4 separate regions of the Homo sapiens genome follow, and all the other regions are linked to region 4. The links are contacts of gene promoters, found by promoter capture Hi-C in blood cells and fetal thymus (Javierre and others, 2016). All regions are on one chromosome and are shown on one strand. Each heading gives the region's core, a stretch centred on a gene start or on the middle of the fragment in contact. The rest is flanking DNA. Distances are from core to core; before and after follow the strand shown.

The links. The method cuts DNA at HindIII sites, captures the fragments that hold promoters and counts their contacts. A CHiCAGO score of 5 or more calls a contact.
Region 1: the fragment with the promoter of NINJ2-AS1 here is called in contact with the fragment with the promoter of ERC1 in region 4 in 1 of 17 cell types (naive CD4 T cells); the score reaches 6.0 in naive CD4 T cells.
Region 2: a fragment that was not itself captured here is called in contact with the fragment with the promoter of ERC1 in region 4 in 1 of 17 cell types (neutrophils); the score reaches 5.5 in neutrophils.
Region 3: a fragment that was not itself captured here is called in contact with the fragment with the promoter of ERC1 in region 4 in 10 of 17 cell types (total CD4 T cells, activated CD4 T cells, naive CD4 T cells and 7 more); the score reaches 8.1 in total CD4 T cells.

What each region holds. Positions count from the first base shown.
Region 1 is chr12:629,520-632,219 of GRCh38, reverse strand. NINJ2-AS1 (NINJ2 antisense RNA 1) reads right to left here and starts at 1,329. Exons shown (of 5, transcript NR_122124.1): 1 at 1,235-1,329; 2 at 1-6. All of the region lies in intron 1 of NINJ2 (ninjurin 2), which reads left to right. RefSeq lists silencers at 1,304-1,403, 1,464-1,543. The HindIII fragment of the contact is 3,290 bases long and covers 1-2,700 here.
Region 2 is chr12:533,603-536,302 of GRCh38, reverse strand. It overlaps B4GALNT3 (beta-1,4-N-acetyl-galactosaminyltransferase 3), which reads right to left. Exons shown (of 20, transcript NM_173593.4): 2 at 1,034-1,137; 3 at 8-85. Among named protein-coding and RNA genes, the nearest start is that of B4GALNT3, 75 kb to the right of the region's middle. RefSeq lists an enhancer at 1,369-1,868. The HindIII fragment of the contact is 3,965 bases long and covers 1-2,700 here.
Region 3 is chr12:565,907-568,606 of GRCh38, reverse strand. NINJ2 (ninjurin 2) reads left to right here. Exons shown (of 4, transcript NM_016533.6): 2 at 2,429-2,657. Among named protein-coding and RNA genes, the nearest start is that of NINJ2-AS1, 64 kb to the left of the region's middle. RefSeq lists enhancers at 2,191-2,690, 2,691-2,700. The HindIII fragment of the contact is 601 bases long and covers 1,139-1,739 here.
Region 4 is chr12:989,841-992,540 of GRCh38, reverse strand. ERC1 (ELKS/RAB6-interacting/CAST family member 1) reads right to left here and starts at 1,318. Exons shown (of 19, transcript NM_178040.4): 1 at 1,219-1,318. It also overlaps a transcript of RAD52 not described here. RefSeq lists silencers at 504-798, 1,004-1,513, 1,534-1,643, 2,054-2,103 and enhancers at 802-1,363, 1,925-2,487. The HindIII fragment of the contact is 9,168 bases long and covers 1-2,700 here.

The DNA of each region.
Region 1 (2,700 bases), core at 80-2,579, 360 kb after region 4:
TTAGGACTTTAAGCACACAGGAATCTCAGCTTTACTCAATCTTTTTCCATATCCTGAGCCCGAGTTCAGACTTCATCCTCCCGGGTCCCCCATGTCCCTTCAACGTCTGATTAATTCTCCAGTCAACTCCCTGCTAATAGTCCACCCACAAATTGCTATTTCAGCTGACCTTCCCCAAAACTTGAGCATCCTTACCAAATACCTTGGGCTTCCTCATAACCTGGTTATCTTCTCATCTGCATGCCTTTCTGGAATAATTTTGAAGTATTAAAAAAAACTCCTCTAATTGTCAAGGGCATGCAGGAAGCTCAGCCCCTAAGGAGCATTGCAGAAATCTGGAGTTCTACTCTGTTTATACCTAAATCTAGCCTTCCAGGAGTTTCAGATAGTTTCCTGGAAACATTTTGTGCTTTGTGTTTTTCACCTTTCTCTCTTAATTGAATATGGGGTGAGGAGCAAGAAAGGGGATTGTGAATTACAATTACAAACAGTACACACATAACACAGGGACAATCTTTGCATTTCTCATTTCTGATCCCAGGGATCAGAGGTAGAGGCAGGCCAGGCGCGGTGGCTCACGCCTGTAATCCCAGCACTTTGGAGGCCGAGGCAGGCGGATCACGAGGTCAAGAGATAGAAACCATCCTGGCCAACATGGTGAAACCCCGTCTGTACTAAAAATATAAAAATTAGCTGGGCGTGGTGGCGCGCGCCTGTACTCCCAGCTACTCGGGAGGCTGAGGCAGCAGAATCGCTTGAGCCCGGGAGGCGGAGGTTGCATTGAGCAGAGATCACGCCACTGCACTCCCGCCTGGTGACAGAGGGAGACTCCGTCTCAAAATAAATAAATAAATAAATAAAAATTTAACAAAAAAAGGTAGAGGCAGCTCTCAGGTGAGTAAATTCGCAGATGCCCACGCATGTCTGGAACATACCCCAGGGGTCATTAGAGACTGCCCAGCAGAGGCGGGAGGATCTTCCGTTTGCTTTTCCTTCAGAACGTTTGTCCGGAGAGCATCCTGTTCTGTTATATGCATATCCACCTCCGTCTCCAAATTACTAGGTTGAGCACAGTGCTCAGTGCCTGGCATTGAGTTAGAAATAGAAAATGAGCTGGCGAGTCCCGGCCCGAGGCTGTGACAGGGGCCATTACTGAGCCCACTCCCCACCAACCTTTCTGCGGTTTAACTGACTCTCCTCCTTCCCCTCCAGATCCCAAGGGCTTGACTCCTACCTCCTCTAAGGCATTTTGAAAAGTTTGCAAATGCACCCTTGATCCTAGCACGTACTTAAGAAGCGGCTCCCCCCTAGAACGTCAGGCTTGAAGCTGACCCCTTCTTCCTCCTCCCGCGCCATTTGGGTCTGTGCGCAGGGCCGGAAGCCTGCTGGGGAGGGGCACGAGGCCGGGCTGGGGCCTCTCCGGAGGGAGCCCGCCGCCCCGCCCAGGGCGCACGCACCCAGCCTCTGAGGGAGGAAGCTGAATGGGGCCAGAGGCTGGCCCTCTTTGGGGATTTGCATTATACAGGCTGTATTTAGAAGCAGCGGCGGGGAGCGGTGGCTCACGCCTGTGATCCCAGCATTTTGGGGGGCCGAGGCGGGCAGATCACCTGAGGCCAGGAGTTCGAGACCAGCCTGTCAACATGGTGAAACTCCGTCTGTGCTAAAAATACAAAAAAAATTAGCCAGGCGTGGTGGCCGGAGCCTGCAGTCCCAGCTACTCGGGAGGCTGAGGCAGGAGAATCGCTTGAACCCGGGAGATGGAGCTTGCAGTGAGCCGAGATCACACCACTGCACTCCAGCCTGGGCAACTCAGCGAGACTCCGTCTCAAAAAACAAAACAAAACAAAACAAAACAAAAAACCAAGAAAAAGAGAATAAAAAAAAATAGAAGCAGCTTTCTTGCTGATAGAAAGCAATGACCCTCTCTGCTATAATTACAACTGAAGAGTCACTTTCTTTCAAAAACTCTATTTTCAGATGTTTACCACTTTCTTTAAAAAGGAAAAAAAATTTGCCTCAAAGGCAGGCAGTCCCCAGGGCATTTCTGGTCTCCTGGGGAAGGAACCTAAGAGCGGTTTGGTAAAATTCCATTTTGCTATCTTGGCGTTACCTAAGGGCAAGAACTGAGGTGGGGCTTTGGTGACAGCAGGGGCTGAAGAGTGCTCTTTTTCATCATCCAGGGTGTCCAATTGTTTTGTTTCCCTGGGCCACATTGGAAGAATTGTCTTGCCCCACACATAAAATACAGCAACACTAACAATGGCTGATACACTTTTAAAAAATCGCAAAGAAACTTCATATATATATATATATATATATATATTTTTTTTTTTTTTTTGAGTTTTGCTCTTGTCGCCGAGGCTGGAGTGCAACGGCACGATCTCGGCTCACCACAACCTCTGCCTCCCAGGTTCAAGTGATTCTCCTGCCTCAGTCTCCTGAGTAGCTGGGATTACAGGCATGCGCCACCAGGCCTGGTTAATTTTGCATTTTTAGTAGAGACGAGGTTTCTCCATGTTGGTCAGGCTGGTCTCAAACTCCTGACCTCAGGTGATCCACCTGCCTCGGCCTCCCAAAGTGCTGGGATTACAGGCGTGAGCCACCATGCCCAACCAAGAACTCATAATGTTTTAAGACAATTTACGAATTTGTTTTGGGCCGCGTTCAAAGCCGTCCTGGGCTGCACGGGGCCCACAGGCT
Region 2 (2,700 bases), core at 69-2,568, 460 kb after region 4:
CCCTCACCTCTGAGAGCCAGGGGACAGGCTTGTTCCACTTCAAGTAGCTGCTGTTACTGCTCACCCCTTGGTCAATGTCGTGGTCCTAGGGGAAGAATGAAGAACGAAGTTGGTAGGAATATTAGGATGAGAAGCTACGGGCAGGACAGGAGGCACAGTGCCTGCTCCCAGGAGGCGTCGGCTCGGAGCACGCTGCCGTCTGTCATTCACACCATGTCCTGGGAATACATCTCCATAGTTTCATCAGCGCCTGCTCCTCGGGTTCCTTCACTTTTCTGAATTTTCTGTCCTCCCCATATGGGAAAGCAGTTTACCCTCTTTAGGTCAGGACCTCTTGAGGGCAGGGACCTCGGCTCCCTCTTCCTCCTTATCCCCCAGCTGTATAGATTTGGGTTCCAACAAGTGGGAGCCCCTCAGGGACACCACCAAACCCTCCCTATTGTGCAGGTCCACAGGTTCAGTTTGGCTCTGGTCCAGCTCTGGAATCCATGTCTGTTCTAGGCTCAGCCTTGGGGCTCCTGAATGAATTAGACCCCAGTTTCTCTAATCTGCCTCCTTAGGGACCATTGGTTCAAGAAGCACTGCAGGCAAATGCTCCACCACAAGTCTGTACTCCCAGCTACGGGCAGGGAGGGGTGTCCATCCACCTCGTCACCTCTGATCTCAGCAGCAAGCACAGCACAGCCCAGCCCTCACCCTAGTGAGAGGCACCACATGCCACTGGTGATGGAGGTCGCAGGCCCGGAGTGGTTCCGGCACGGGCAAACTGAACTAGGGAACGAGGGCAGACACCAGAAAACCAGGCCCAGTGGCAGCCCCAGTAAAAGTTTCCTTTTACTGGCTTTGAGGAGGCTGGATGGACATCTCTAAGGCTCAGCTAGGAGGTCCTGAGGCCAGACTAGGACTCTGGGGGCTGTTTATCCTCTGCCTCTCCTCCCAGAGTAGCAGAGGTTACCCTTAAGGCAACTGGGCAGAGCACCTGCGGACCTTTGTTAAGGCATCAGCAGGGACAATGGACTGGCTGGTCACCTACCTCGAGGCTCAGCCTCTGGGGATGGTAGAACTGGAGGTGTGGATCCACAGCTGGAATGTTCCTGCTGGCCAGAGCCTTGGCCAGTTCTCTCCAGCTGCCGTACCCTGTGGAAGGGGAAGAGAGGAGCCCTCAGGTCAGCGTAACCTGGAAACCTCATACACCTAAAAGATTTGGGAGGTTAATGGAGGGAACCGTCTTCCCTTCTCACCTCTCTTCAGAGGGTGGGTGGGAAGAGGGCTGGGCTGGGGGCAGGAGATAGCTGCAGACTGGCCAAGGCCCACAGGGCAGAGAGAGGAGATGAGCTTACATCCCATCAGCAGTCACCGCCTTCCAGAAACCAGAGAAGGAGCCAGTCCAGGTGAGCCTGGACCACGGGCCTCCCACTACCAGCTCGTTCTCCCCCGGCTGCCTCTGGAGGCCAATTTATCCCGAGAGCTGCCGTGGAGAGATGGTCGTGACAGGCGGTACACTCTTCCCTTCCTGCTCAGTTTCTGTGCCCTGAGCCCGGGGAACAGCAGAGGCTTACTAATGGGTGGGGACCCCCTACCACTGATCACTGGGTTGCTGGATAGAGCCGGAGCTGAGAGAGGCAGGAAAGAGTGGGCCTGGGATGTGATGTCTGTCAAACAAAGGTATAAACCACTGGAGATACAAGATCAGAGGCCCTGCTATTACTGGAGTCACCGGGAGGCTGCGTGTGGCTGACGCTGTCTGTACCCTGAAGGCTCTGGACCAGGTTGGCTTACACGCACCTGGGAAGGCAAAAAGCCAAACCATGGCGAGAGGGAGGGAGGGAACAGGAAACTGGGGGGTGCACGCGCATTCACAAGTCAGGAGGCAAGGGGCTGCACCAGGGTGAGGGCCGGGGAGAATCAGTCCGGCGGCCGGCCACTGCTGACACTCCCGAGGGCTGGGACTCCCATCTCAGAGGAGATTGCTGGGCTTTGGATAAGTGGAACCAAACCACTGTTAGTCACAAACCAGAACCGTAGACCACTGGAAGCGAAAGAGGCTTTTGAGATCACCTCATCCTCCCTTCAAGTGAGGAAAATGGGACCCACACTGGTCAAATGGCTGATCAAGGCTCACTTAGCAAGTAGTGGCAAGGCTAAGACTAGGACCCCAGTGTGCCACGGATTTCCACTGAGCTCCCCTTTCCCTCAACAGCTTCACCACGATGTCCCCAGGATGCTGCGCTGGGCACTGCTTAGACGGAATTAGCCTGACAGTCCCCGACCCCTGGGAGCCAAGAGTCGACAGTAGGCAGAAGTGTCACAGAGGAACCCCTACGTGAGCACCAGCAGAGACACAGACAGCCACGCAGACACAGAACACAGAGCACCACCCACGAATATGGGCTTCACCGAAGGTGGCCACCCACGCTATGCACGAGTGTTTCTGTAACAGGCCTGGGGAGGGGTGGGATCAGGGGCTGCACGCTGAAATGCAGGTGTGGGGTGAGAGTGCTTTTCTTACATGATTATGCTTTGTGTGGGCCCTTTCGGCTTACTGAGTGTCCCACAGGCGTGATTTCATCTGAACCTTCTAAGAACCTCCTGAGAGGCCAGCTCCATGACCCCATTTCACAGATAGGGAAAGAGCGCTCCGAGTCTGAAGTCACAGAGCTGGTTGTTCCGCAGGCAGGATCAGAACAGAGAGCTCCCCTG
Region 3 (2,700 bases), core at 190-2,689, 420 kb after region 4:
TATGTTTGATCCTCCAATGACTGGTCCACAGAGTCAGAGAGGGGCAGCCTGCGGGGCACAGGCTGCCAGGGTGGATTCCATCAGAGCAGGTGCTGTTAGCACCCATGACCACCCTGTGCCTCTTGAATGTGTCTGTGTGTGTGCACCCTCCTGGCAAACAGAGCAAAGGGCCAGGAGCTTGGAAAGGAAGTGAGAAGAGCAGGGTGGAGACGTGGGGCTGAGTTTTGAAGGCAAACGTTAGGAGAAGGACTGGGGAAGAGAGGCTCCCTTCTGTTGGCCTAGGAGAGGATTGGTCCAATCTGTAGCCAGGCATGTGGATTAGAGCTGGATCTCCAAAGACGAGTGCCCAAGACCATATTTTAGGATAAGAAAATTAAACTTCTATTTATATTGAATTTTATGTAATCCTTTCAAATGTTTCTACTTTTGCATATTTTACTATATATATAATTAGTCCAATAAAAATATGTATAGTTGATAATGGAAGAATGTACATATATTGAGGATGCATGGCCAAAACAGTTTTTAATGCTGAGATTACACTATCAAGAAAGTCTGGAGACTACTGCATTTCAGAGTTTTGTTTTTGTTTTTGTTTTGAGACAAGAGTCTTACTCTGCCACCCAGGCTAGAGTGCAATGGTGCGATCTCTGCTCACTGCAACCTCTGCCTCCTGGTTCAAGTGATTCTCCTGCCTCAGCCTCCTGAGTAGCTGGGATTACAGGCGTGTGACACCATACCCAGCTGATTTTTTTGTATTTTTAGTAGAGACGGGATTTTGCCATGTTGGCCAGGCTAGTCTCAAACTCCTGACCTCAAATGATCCCCCTGCCTTGGCCTCTCAAAGTGCTGGAGTTACGGGCATGAGCCACTGCACCCAGCCTCATTTCGGGGTATCCTAAGGGCTCATAGAATCCAAAGGTTCTGATAGATAGGTAAATCAGTTAGCCTATGTGTAAATCAACTGTCCTCTGTGTAAATCCCTGAGGTACAGAGAAGTGAAGTGACTTGCTGGGGCTGCACGAAGTACAAGGAACATTCCAGACCCTCTGAGACCTGCCTATCCAATCATCCACGCATCCATCCATCCACCCACCAATCTCTCCATCCATCCATCCATCCCTTCATCCATGAAGCTTTATTTTATACTTCAAAACAAAATCAAATGTAAATTATGCTTCAATAAATCCTAGCCAAAAAAATTAAAAACAAATTACGAGTGTTTAACTGGTATGCATCACTGTGCATATATAGGCACGCATCCATCTATCCATCCATCTGTCCCCACGCAGCAGGTATCTGTCCTGTCGTGGTGATCTGCTGGGTCATCTTCCCTACCTCCAGGCCATAGCATCCTTCAATCCATCCGTCTCTCCCCACTCTGCAGGTATCTGTCCTGTCATGGTGATCTGCTGGGTCATCTTCCCTACCTCCAGGCCGTAGCATCCTTCAGAGTCCTCCATTCCTTCCTGTCTCACCTTGCTCCACTTCAGTTCCTTTTCACCCTGATCCTAAATCAATACTATAACTTTTAAATGACTCTCCCTGCTTCTAGCCCTTCCTGGCCCAGTCTGTTCCAAGCACCACTGCTAAATCAATCTTCCAAGTACTCTTGAGTGACTGCAGATTGCCCTTGGTCATGGCGCCCAGTCTGAAATTCTTGGCCCAACCCAGAGGCCCACAGCATATGCCCTGTATTGTGATTCTGTCTTTTGGAGTTAGTGGCTTCTGGAGAAGCTTTAGTAAATTATGCTTCAATAAATCCTAGCCAAAAGTAATAATTAAAATGATGTGAGTGTTTAACTAGTATGCATTACTGTGTGTATACACTCATGCATGCATGCATGTGTATGCTGAGAGCCTGTGTCTGACAGCGTGTGTGCCTGAGCAGGGCGGCAGCTCCAGTGCTCCTGAGGGTTGGAAATCCAGCCGATGATCAGCTGCTGAGCTGTGCACCCTGCCTTGGGGGCCACAGCATTATGCGAGAGGAGGTGCCTTTCTCTATTTCACCCAAGCCTCCAAGCTCTTTTTATTGTCTTCTCAGGTGCTTTCCTCTCAGAGGAAAAGAACACAGCCCAAAGCTGAGGCCTGGCCCAGGTAAAATAGTGAATAGGGTGAGGAAGGTGCATTTTACCAGCAGCAGAGAACCCTCCCGGCTTTCTCCAGCCAGATGTGTGAAGGTGTGAGGGAAGGGGTGACTCTCCAGGAAGTATCAACTGCAACAGAATGTCATTTCAGAGTGCAGAGGTCCTTATGGGTTTTCTCGTCCAACCCTTCATTTTATCAGGCCATGAAACTAAGGGTGTCATTTGCCCTGAGCTTCCCATCTGGATTGGAAAGAGCTTTAAAACCTCTCTCCTCTCTCCCACCTCTCAACTGCTTCCCTTCCAGAGCTCCCCTTGGTAAGTCTGTGCTTTCTCCCCTACAGCCTGGAAGCTCCGACCCCAGGAGCCAGCCCATCAACCTGAACCATTACGCCACCAAGAAGAGCGTGGCGGAGAGCATGCTGGACGTGGCCCTGTTCATGTCCAACGCCATGCGGCTGAAGGCGGTGCTGGAGCAGGGACCATCCTCTCACTACTACACCACCCTGGTCACCCTCATCAGCCTCTCTCTGCTCCTGCAGGTGGTCATCGGTGTCCTGCTCGTGGTCATTGGTGAGGAGCCCAGCCTGCAGTCAGACCTTCTGCCTCGGCACCC
Region 4 (2,700 bases), core at 69-2,568:
AAGAGTTCCATTTCATTTTAAAGTGTTTTAATAAAGACTGCAAGAAACATAACTGCAAATGAGAAATAAAATTTCAACAATTTAGCACTGAACACAAAATGTCTAAAAGTCAAGGTGTACTGAGCAAGCAACACGCTATAAAAGACGGTTGTACTTTAAAACATTTAAGCATTTTTCATATAATTAGCTCCAACAGAACTATTCCAATTGTTCACTTTATCCACCCAAAGCAGTCAACCACAACCACCTGCAACTATTATTCAGCAATGTGCCTTCCAAAGCAACCACCTGAGTTTGGGGCCTTCTCTCAAGGGGCCAGGATAAAGCCTGTAAAAGGGTGGTATAAAGAGATCTTTTAGGCATTGGGGGGAAAAAAAACTGGAAGACACCACCTTGAAGGAGCTAAGCGTAATGCGACCCAAATGGTGGCTGCCGGAACGAAGTTGTCTAAACCGAAGATCTCCCTCTTCTTCGGTGTAAAACTTTCAGATACATCCACGCTCACAATTTACCTGAGCCAAAGTAAGGGGATTCTCTTCCCTCTCCGACCCCCCACCCACCCCGCCAGAAGAAAAAGAATCGAACCCTAAAGTAGAAACGTGAGATCTAGTGCAATAAAATAGGTTCTGCAACTGCCTCAAAGGCAACATGCACAGCTCATCGTCCTTTTGAAATACACTTCATCTTTTATCTCACCATTTCATCGAAAAGAAAAGAATCATCTTCAGCATTTTACATCACTCACCTAACCCAAAGATCCACCCTGACCGCACCCCAACCTCATGGCTCCCCAATTTCTCCGTCTCCCCACTACCTCGTCCGCGGCTTCACTAGTCCTAAGCCTCCCCCCCTCCGCTCCCCAAGTGCCCAGAGCCCCAGTCCCCACTCCCCCACCTCCCGCCCCAGGATCCCCACATCTACCGCCTCGGCTCCCGCCCGATCCCGGAGCCCGGCTGGGTGGAGCCCGCGGGTGGGCGCCGGTGGTCTGGGTGGGGCCCGCCCCTCCCCACCCCCCGGGCTGCCGAGGAGGGGGAGGGGGTCGCGAAGCCTCACCTACAGCTCCGCCCCTCCCCGGGGGCGCGTTGCCCTGCCCAGCCCAGCCCGGGCCGTGAGCAAGAAGCTGGGTAGGAAAGGCGAAAGCCTCAGCACTAGCGACAGGGGGGAAGCTCTGGGTCCCGCGCGACTTCCGCGCTGTCGCCGCCGCCGCGGCCGTCTCACCGTCCTCAGGGCTGCCGCTACTGCTGCTGCTGCCGCCCAGGCACCGCCGCCGCCGCCACTACCGCCGCCGCCGCCGCCACAGCACGGCCCAGGCGCCCGCGACGTCACCGCGCCCCGCCCCCTGCGCGAGACACCTAGCCCCGCCCCCAGCCCCGCCGCGGGGCGCAGCGCGCCTCCCCGGGCTCCCGGCTCGGCTGCCTCCCTTTCCCTCAGCCTCCCGGGAGCGTGACGCGGCGGCCCGGGGGCCTCCGGGCGCCTTCCGGGGCACGCGGGTGAGGAACTGGGAAGCGGGGGAAATCGGCGCCACGGCGGTCGATTAGCACCGAAACAGAGTGATGGGCGCGGAGCGTCCCTGCACACACACACACACTCACACACACACACACACGACCCCTGCGGCCACGGGAGGGGAGAGCCGGGGTCGGCTCCGCGAGCGCAGGGTGGCGCTTGTCTCCTCCTGCTTGCCGTAGGAAGTGGACGCTGGAAGCCCGAGGAGCCGCTTCGTGTCTTCCCAAACCTAAGCGGCGCCCCACCCCCTACTTCTCGTGGCCCGTTACGCCCGGGGCAGCCAAGCGCCGCGGGAGCAGCGCCGGGATCGACCCTGGCTGCTGGGGGGACGCTTTGTCCCAAGAAAGCTGGTTTTTTGCCCCTTAGCTTCGTGGAACGCGGCCGCGAAATTAGTGGTCTTCTGACCTGAGACTCGCGGGGCTGCGCACACGGGCATCGCCGAGGACCCCAGCAATGGACGTCGTGTCTGTGGTGATCCCGCCAGGACGCGGGGAGCGTGGGCGGAAATTAGTGTCCACGTTCCGACCCTGCGCTGTGCCAAACGCTGCTTCGGGAGCTGTTTATTTAGCCTCCGACAGCTAAGCGAATCGGCGGGCGGCTGGGGCCTGGTGCAACCCGATTTTCTCGTGCAGACTCGCAGCCGGCTTTGGTTTTGTTTTTTGTTTTTTGTTTTTTTTTTGGAGCCATGCAGAGGGTAGCTACAGCCATTAATTTAAGGATGTAGATAAGCTATCTCTAAACCAAGAAAGTAAGAATGGTGTGAATTATATTTATTCCCAGCCTTCCAGTGTTTATTAAAATAATTTTCGGTGTCCTTGAGAGGAGTTAAAAGCCATCATTTTACTCCTGCTTACCTCCGCCACCGTAATTAACCACTTTATACTGCCTCATAATCCCATTAACAAATTGCAGTCGCTCCTCAGCCTTCACATTCATTCACTCACCAGTTTCTACTGTTTCATCCTGCCCGGACTCTTAACTGTTCCCTCCCAGGATCGACATGCACTTGGATCATTGCAGTTTCTGGGCCTGCTGTCATCTCCCCCTTCAGTACTTCCCACATATGACTACCAACTGTTAGACGATGTGCTGCTGCCAGACCAGCCTTTCATTTCTTGGACATCCGGCTATTTACCCAGGAAAAGTCATCCTTTGACTATTTTTCATGACCTTTCTCATCTGACTCGTGATCTG